Linked DNA regions of Homo sapiens: all the other regions are linked to region 2. Evidence: promoter capture Hi-C in human tissues and cell types (Jung and others, 2019). All regions are on one chromosome and are shown on one strand. Each heading gives the region's core, a stretch centred on a gene start or on the middle of the fragment in contact. The rest is flanking DNA. Distances are from core to core; before and after follow the strand shown. Region 1 overlaps G2E3-AS1 (G2E3 antisense RNA 1). Region 2 holds the start of G2E3 (G2/M-phase specific E3 ubiquitin protein ligase). Region 3 overlaps G2E3-AS1 (G2E3 antisense RNA 1).

The links. The method cuts DNA at HindIII sites, captures the fragments that hold promoters and counts their contacts. A contact is called where the count stands out against the background at its distance.
Region 1: a contact is called between a fragment that was not itself captured here and the fragment with the promoter of G2E3 in region 2, in 2 of the 25 tissues and cell types used here (dorsolateral prefrontal cortex and mesendoderm cells).
Region 3: a contact is called between a fragment that was not itself captured here and the fragment with the promoter of G2E3 in region 2, in 1 of the 25 tissues and cell types used here (liver).

Annotation. Positions count from the first base shown.
Region 1 is chr14:30,507,049-30,509,902 of GRCh38, forward strand. All of the region lies in intron 3 of G2E3-AS1 (G2E3 antisense RNA 1), which reads right to left. All of the region lies in intron 1 of LOC105370432 (a long non-coding RNA gene), which reads left to right. Among named protein-coding and RNA genes, the nearest start is that of G2E3, 51 kb to the right of the region's middle. The HindIII fragment of the contact is 6,876 bases long and covers 1-2,854 here.
Region 2 is chr14:30,557,627-30,560,545 of GRCh38, forward strand. It overlaps G2E3 (G2/M-phase specific E3 ubiquitin protein ligase), which reads left to right and starts at 1,532. Exons shown (of 15, transcript NM_017769.5): 1 at 1,532-1,646. All of the region lies in intron 3 of G2E3-AS1 (G2E3 antisense RNA 1), which reads right to left. RefSeq lists an enhancer at 1,198-1,387. The HindIII fragment of the contact is 13,115 bases long and covers 1-2,919 here.
Region 3 is chr14:30,523,899-30,526,752 of GRCh38, forward strand. All of the region lies in intron 3 of G2E3-AS1 (G2E3 antisense RNA 1), which reads right to left. Among named protein-coding and RNA genes, the nearest start is that of G2E3, 34 kb to the right of the region's middle. The HindIII fragment of the contact is 4,279 bases long and covers 1-2,854 here.

The sequences.
Region 1 (2,854 bases), core at 69-2,568, 51 kb before region 2:
CACAAGTTTGCATACCTAGTTTTTTATCGTATTCTAGACATTACAAAAGCTATATTATAGAGACTCTGGAATTTATATTCTTCTTAAGAGCGCTGATTTTTGTCCTAGCAGGTAGTTAACTTGGCTAATCTCACAATCTGAACTCTATTTCTCTAGTAGTGGGCAGCAGCTAAAATTTCTGCCCAATTCTTTCATATTCCAGCTGCTGATTTTCACCAGGACACTGGAGTCTCTTGGGCATATATAGTAGTCAAGTGGGGGTTTGGGTGGAATTTATACACAAATTTTGAAGTTCCCTCCTTCCGCAGCTTCCTCCTTTCCAGGAATTTCCTCCTCAATCCTTCCAGCTTCTCTGCCAATCTAGAACTCACTTCCTCTTTTACCTCAAGCCAGTAAAACTGCAACTTTCTGTTACCCAGAGCCCATGAAGTTTGGTACTATGGGGCCTCAGAAAACAACACTCCAAAATGAAGGCCACAGAAGCAGACTCACAGGCAAAGGTTTTTCTTTGACCCCTCCTACCCTTGTATCTCTCAGTCCCGTTCTTCCCGGAGGCCAGCCACAGAAACTAGAAACCGTATTCCCCAAGACAGTCATAGAAACCAGAAGAACCCCTTCACCCCAAAGCCAACCATAACACCTAAAATATTCTGTGTAAGAACTAGCCATAAAGAAATTAATCTGACCTACGTTGTTTGCCTGTAGGTCATAAGACCCCCTATTCCAAAGAGGGTCCTGCCCCACACCCAAAAGGAAGGAATACTGCTCGGAGAGGCCAAGAATCCAGACAGACAGGCCATGCTGGGCTTCCCCACTCAGTCTATTACTATTATATTTTTGTCCAACCATATTTCTACATGGCTGTTTATAATTTATTGAACCTAAGCATTGAAATGGACAGTTTCCTCTATATCTTTGGGTCTTCATTCTGAAGGCTCCTGTGTATACTCATTAAATACATTTGTATGCCTTTTCTCCAATTAATCTGCCTTTGCCAAGTTGATTTTTCAGTGAACTTTCAGAGGACCAAGCTCTTGGTCCCTACAGGATGTACCCTCAGGCAAAAAGGTGCATACTCACAAATCTCACTGTTGCAATTCCTGTCTTTCAAAGGTAGACTCTCTCTGGTATCTGAGTGTTTTGTTGGTCTCCAGTACTTTCAAATGGGTGGTTAGGGTGTGGAGAGAGGTGTAAATATATCATATATAATAGTTATCTGTGCGAAGGTTATTCTGGTTAAATAACTCTGCCATTTCTGAAAGTCTGAGTAAATACATATTTTCACTTTCTGCTTTTTTCACTTAACATTATATCATCTGGCTTTTTGTGTGTTATTTACTGTGTGATGTTGCTTTATGTGCTCTGATTAGCTGTATTCATTACATCTGTTGTTCATCTGGATTCAGAGCCTTTAATTCTACCTTCACATTTCCTATGTGAAGTCCTAACATTGTTTTGTACTGTCAGTTCAGTCTGTAAAACCTGGCAAAGCAGTTAGAAAATGAAACACCAGTCATTTTACGTCATGAAGCCAAATTGAGTATTTTAATCAATTCAACTTTTAATAATATGATTTGATCCACATAATAGTATATTTCTAATTTACAGTCAACAAAACCATTTCCTTGCTTTTCTCATAGTAAAAAATATTTCATTTCTCTGATTTTAAAAAGTTGATTTTTGTTCTTCCATTATATAACTTTATGGGGAAGTGTTGTTTTTCTCTTTTATTTTTCTCAGCAAATTTTAGCATAAGAGTAATTTGTAGCATTTTGGAGTTATCATGGCAAAAAGTTTACTTTTCTACAGATCACATGAAAGTTTATTTAAGAAAGACTCAGCTAAAGTTTCTTTATTCATTTATTCAGCAGATGTTTCATAAGGGTTTATTGCATGCGAGACAGTATGGGAGGTACAAGGGATATTAGAATAAATAAGACACCATTCAGAGCCTCCAAAGGCTTATAATCTCTAAGGAAAAACAGAGAAGTCATTTAAAATAACAATAAATTTAAATAAGTACTATCAGTGATAAGGATAAGAAGAAGAAATGAAAAAATTCACAGGAAGGAAGTGTTTCCTTCTGCTTGGAGAGATCTAGAGAGTCTACTTAAGTGTCAACAGTTGTGCATAATCTTGAAAAATGACTGTTTGCCAGAAGCAAGAACTTGAGGAAAAATACCACACATCTGGTACACTGCAAGTACTTTGTCATAATAGGATATACTAAGCAAGCAGAGAAATGGCAGAATATGAGACTAGAAAAGCAGGCAGGGGACAAATGAATAACAGCCCTGTGAATTATATTTGGTATAGAAGTATCTGAATTTTATTCTGTGGATGATGAGAAGTTATTGCAAGATTTTAAGTAGGATTAACATAACGAGATTTGAGTCTTTGAAATATTACTCTGACTGCAGAGTGGAGAATGGATTACATCAAAGGCTGATACAGACGGGATTTGGCCCATAAGCCATATTGTTTGCCAACACCTGGAATAGATGATTCCTCCCAAAGCAACGAGATTAGCTAGAAACCTATTGCAATAGTCCAAGTGAGTTATAATGAGAGTTTGAATCAGAGCAGTGAAAATGAATGTGCAGAGGAGGAGAAAATTCTAGAAACATTAAGAAAGACTTGGTGACCAATTGGATTTTGTGGCTACTTGGGGAAGAAATTTAGGAGGACCTTCTTGAACAATACTCCACAAGCATAGGCAACAAAGGAAAAATGGACAAATGGGATCACATCAGGTTGAAAAGCTTTTGTGCAGCAAAGGATACAATCCACAAAGTGAAGAGATAACCCACAGAATGGGAGAAAATATTTGCAAACTCTTCATCTGACAAGGGAT
Region 2 (2,919 bases), core at 282-2,781:
AAACAAGGATACTACAGTCCTTCTTAAACTTTTTCAGTATTTCATTTCAGTACCCGCTGATCTACTTCATTACTTTTAGTGCCCGCAGCGTCAGTATATCAGATGCTAAAGTATCATAACTTACATGTATTTAACCCCTTCCTTATTTGTAGACACAGATTATTTTCTATCTTCCACTGTTAAAAACAGTACATCAGTTAATAGCTTTACACACCCCCTGTGTCAGATTACCTGTAGCATAGGTTCTCAGAAATCTAGTAAACCTTTCAAACTGTATTTTTTTTTTTTTTTTTTTTTTTTTTTTGAGACAGAGCCTCGCTCTGTCGCCCAGGCTGGAGTGCAGTGGCGCAATTTCTGCTCACTGCAAGCTCCGTCTCCCGGGTTCACACCATTCTCCTGCCTCAGCCTCCCGAGTAGCTGGGACTACAGGCGCCTGCCATCACGCCCAGCTAATTTTTTGTACATTTAGTAGAGACGGGGTTTCACCATGTTAGCCAGGATGGTCTCGATCTCCTGACCTCGTGATCCACCCGCCTCGGCCTACCAAAGTGCTGGGATTACAGGCGTGAGCCACCGCGCCCGGCCCTCAAACTGTATTTTTGACAAAGGCTAAAGGTATGCTGTCATGGTTTGGTTTGTACTGATCCGTTTAGGTAATTCAATGTTATTAGATGTGAGGATGATCTGGTGGCAACATCAATCACAGCCATAAAGGTCAGAGTTATTTAGCGCCCCTCACCCCCTAGCATTTCCAGTCCTTCCTTTAGTTTCTGGAAGCTCCCAGATGTCTCTTCAGAAGCTTAAGACGTTTTGGATCAAAGACATACTGTGGTCCTCGATAAAGGAAAAGATACTGTTGTTTCAATAATCTCACGGGACAATACTTAATAATCTCGTAAAGTGAGCCCTTATCTGAGGGGGGAAATAAAATTTATTGCCTTCTAACACCATCAAATAGTTTATTTGAGACCAGGAATTGGTCCGACCACTTATTTTCAACTTTTGGCTGAATACGGGTGAACTTGGCTTTTTGTTTTCCCTAAACCCAGGACAGAAATAAATTAAAAGCCCTGACTGTGCCGGGATAGGACTGAGAGGCCCAGGAAAGGCTGCACTAAGTACTTGGAGGGTTTGTTTTTTTCCTTCTTGCTGCTGCTGCTGTTTCCTCGAGGATGAAGGGAAAGATAAAACCCTCCTGCCTCCGTTCGTGCTTTCATTCGCCCCATTCCTCGAAGGTGACGAAACTTCAGCACATCTCTGTCCATTTTGGAAAAAAGAGGATCCCCTCAAGAGCAAATAGGCGGAAACAATGACCCCGCGCCCGGAGTTTTTCTGAGCTCCTAAATAGGGAGAGAGACCCGACAAAACAAACAAGCGAAGGCGACACAGCCAGGTTAGCACCGAGCAGCAGCGCAGGAGCGCCAGAAGGGCGGGAGCACACGGGCCCTTCCCCACAGCCAGCGCCTCCGCGGGTCCCACCCCTCGAGGGCGGGGCCGACCGCTCTTTCCGGGTTTGCGAGCGGAAGTGGACGAATTTGAATCCTGTGGGCCGTTGAATGTGGCTGCTCGCGGTCGGCGTGCCCCGACGTACAGCGGGCCGGGAAAAGTGGCACTGAGGCTCTGGAACTTCTGCCCAGCTCTCCTTGGTGAGTAAATGGGGAACGGGAAGACGCAGAACGTTCCAGAGAGAGAAGCAGGACCGTGGGGTGGGAGAGGGTGTCAGGAGGCCGGACGTCGCAGCCGGGGCCTCGCAGTGCTTTTGGGGACGTCTGGTGCTGGGGCCCGGCCTGGAGACTAAGGGAATTCGGGGCACTGGGGGCGTTTGCTGGACCAGCGCTCTCGACGGTTGCGCACGCCAGCCAGCTCTCAGTGTTGAGGATTCGGAGGCCCTGCCGGTCCCCCGCGAGTAAACCTTGTTTATACGCATCCTCCGTGGCTTTTTTTAAACCCGTAGTTTATTATTTCCACCAATTCGGCTCGAATGCTGAAATTTTAACAGTAGTTAAATCTCACTGTGAAGGCGTTGCCACGTTTAAACAAATCTCTTTTAATGAAAGATGGAAGGTTGGGGCGGGTTTAGAATGAAAAGATGCTCTACGTGGCTCCGCGTTCCTCCTGAGAGAGATACCCGGGCAACCTTGATTAACTCTGGACTGCAGGGAAGTGACAGTCTTTGAAATGCCTGAGTGGGATTTAAACTGAAATTCGAGTGTCCTTTGTATTTAAAACCCGGATATTTTTCTTTCACGGTTGACATTTTTCATGTACCGCAAAAATCCGAGACTCCTATTTAAACCGGCTGTGGTAACAGCGGTGGTGATTAACTAGGGTCTTAGTTTGCAAACAATAGGGATAAGGTTTAGTTCCACCGCCCTGCCTTTTCGCCTCCCTCATTCATTGGCCAACTGGGTTATTATGGAGTCTTTTTGGAAGTAATCCACTAATGCTTTGAGCATCTGTTTCTTTGGGTTTTATTGTTTTGGGCTTTTTTTTTTTTAATTTTTAATGATGAACTATCTGAAATATGGAACTCTGTCTAACCCAGTAGTAAAGTCATGCCTTCTGGAATGGTTTAAAAGTGTGCCATAAATGTAAACTATAAATGGGAACTTTAAATGTGTACAAGTTTTACATCTTTATTAAAAATCGTCAGTTTTGTGTAGCTTAATACGAAAAGATATTTTAAGTTCCTTTTAAGGTTTTAACACCAGGATATTGTACCATTTAAATGTATAAATATATTTTTAAAAGTAGGACTTCATAATAATCAGAATAAAAACATTCCTTCATCCAGTGCTGGCTATTCCAGCACCCCCATTCTTCCTGCTATTGAACTTTTAAGTGTTAGCCAGGAAGAATAGACTTAAATACTCGGTGTTTAGGATAGTTAAAATATGAGCATTTTTCATATAGTGTCTT
Region 3 (2,854 bases), core at 23-2,522, 34 kb before region 2:
ACTAAAAAAGTATTTGGTCAGGATGCAAGATTTCTGAATGCCTGTATCTTGTCCTACCATTACCTTACCTTTCCTTCCTTTCCCTTTCCTCCATCCAACCAAGCTTTATCCTCCCTAGCCCCTTTCCATAACAAAAATGCCCAAGGGATACAAGCACAGGGCCCAAAGCCAGGTAAATGTACTTTTTTACTCTGATGCTTTTGTCCAAAGGTCCAGTGTCTGAACTAATCAGGAATCAGTGGCCAAGGCCCTTTTCATAGCTTGGTAGTCCCCAGACTGCTTTCCTAATAAACTATCTGAAAGTTGTTAACTGGTATTGTACCAGAGAAAAAGTAGTATCTTTTCCTCACCCATTGCAAGGCTCATGGCTGAGGCCCCCGTAAAAAAAACACAGATTAACAAGAGAAAAGTTTACAAATTTAAATTCATGTGACATAGGGAGCCTTCAAAAATAAAGACCCAAAGAAACAGAAAACGTGCATGTTTCCATGGTAGGGTTTGATGAAGAGTAGACAATTGTGTAGAAGTATGATTGGACAAAGAGGGTAAGATCTAATGATAATAAAATCAGGGGAACTTAGCAAGGCCTGCCTGTTCAGATTCTTCTCGGTATCTCTGTATTTTCAAGGCTAAGGATGTTCCTTTTCTCCAGATAGAGGGAAGGTATGATCTGCTTCAGGGGAGAAGGACGAGAGGAAGATGAGAATGGCCTTTCTGCTTGTGCTATTTTTTCAAATGCCAAGGTGTCATATGTTGGGGTAGCATGTCCTAAACTCCACCAGTATGCAAAATTAAAGTATTCCATAACCAAAAACATCAGAGAAGTACTGCACTGCATAGTTCCCTCTTGGGGTTTAAATGTGAATATTCACAGATTAAAAACTGAGAAGCCTCACAGGAAGATAAAGATGGGTAAATCTGCTCAAGACTGCTTTTCTCAAGTTTGTTTGACCAAGAATTTTCTTATCTTAAAACTCCTAATAGGGAGCAGAATAATGTCCCATGTCTGGGAAACAGTGGCTATCACAACAATAGGCTACAATGCTAAAAACAGGCCTCCTCCAGTGTTCCATTGCAGGAAAGCCTTCAGCACTTACAAAATTGACTTTCTCTGACCCCCAAATATTTCATGTGTTCACTTGTCCTAAATGCCAGACATTCAGCATGTGGCATAAGAATATGAGTACAAGCCTCACACTCATGAAAAATTATAAAACACAAATTAAATGTGATCACTGCTTCAGCACTTTACAATGTAAGCATCAATTACTTGTTAACTATGATTTCCCAAACAAACCCAATGTAATTGAATCAGGAAATATCAATATCCAGACCCACATGATTCTTACTAGCCATAAACTATAACAAAAAAAAAAATCAAAGAGAAAAAGAAAAAATCCTGGTTTCAGCTTCACTGGGGTGCTCGCCGATCTATGCCCGCTGTCATGAGTGCCCCACCTGTGAACGTAAATTTCACTTGGAAGATAGAGCATGTAAGGAGGTTAACTGTGACCTAGAATTTCAAATCTGAGGGGACGGGGGAGCAGATGTGGACTCCAACGCTTATCCACACTGCCTTTCTCTAGAGAGTACTTGAAACACTCCTGTTTTCTTTGGGATTTTAGAAATTGCATTTCTGGCACCTCCACTAGCAATTCTTTCCTGAAACCCCATTCTCCACCTCACATCTATCCCATATATTTAAAACCTCAAGTTTTCTCTACCTTTCTTTGGTCTCTGCATTCCTGGCACCAAACTCTGAAGTGACCGAAAGTTCCCTCTGAGAAACAGCGAAACAGCGAAACAGCGAAACAGCTCCCATGCCTAACTTTTGTATTTTTAGTAGAGACAGGGTTTCACTATGTTGTTTGGCCAGGCTGGTCTCAAACTCCTGACCTCAGGTGATCCGCCTGTGTCAGCCTCCCAAAGTGCTGGGATTATAGGCGTGAGCCACCACACCTGGACCATGCCTTCTTATGAGCAAGGAAAACCACATTAATATTAGGCAATTTGCATAGCCGTAATCTGATGCACTCTCTCTGTTTCTTCATCCCCAGTGGTATTCCTGGTTGTGGGTAGCCTAGGGCTGTCAGAGAGGCCTTGTTCCCACATTGCTTCAGCTGGAAGGAATGACCCAGGCCAGTGAACTGGTCTGCTATTGGTGGTGTGGCTCAAGGGATCTAATGCTATGCATGTGCTCATAATACAACCCAGATCTGCACTGCTGCTTTCAGCTGAAGTCCATAACAGAGGCATCTGGAGAAAGCAGACCCCAAAAATGGGAGAGGAAAACAAGAAAAAGCCTCATGCTTTCAAGCTTGCTAGAGTATTTGTTAAGTTCACATGGAGAAACAACAATCTTTGCAGTGAAAAACTGTAGAAGGAATTATCATAAGAGTATTTTTATCACCGTTACTTGCTAAGTTAATGGATTGTGCTTTAATTCTTGAATGGTAGAAAATACTAAAAGAGCTGATGAAGTTCTCGGCCTTAAAAGACACAGTCTCCGAACTTCTCTAATTTTATTTTGATACTTATATGTGTCCCACAGTAAGTATTTGCTGCTAACACTACATAATGAGTGGCAATCTCAAAGTTACAATAAATTATGCATAATTTAGTCTCTTAGAAGGTCTATAAATACAGCGTGAAGTGTTCAGCTTGTTATTTGATGCAACATCTGAAATCAGATTGCTCTGATGCAAATGTTTATCTCAATGTTATAATTGTGGCATGAATTCTTCTGAATTTATTTTGTTTGCAAAGAGCATTTTATTAATTAGTTACACCAGTCTCAAGGGTATTAGGTTTTTTAGAGCCATCAGTGTCAAAACTTCTGCAAATATAAAATTAT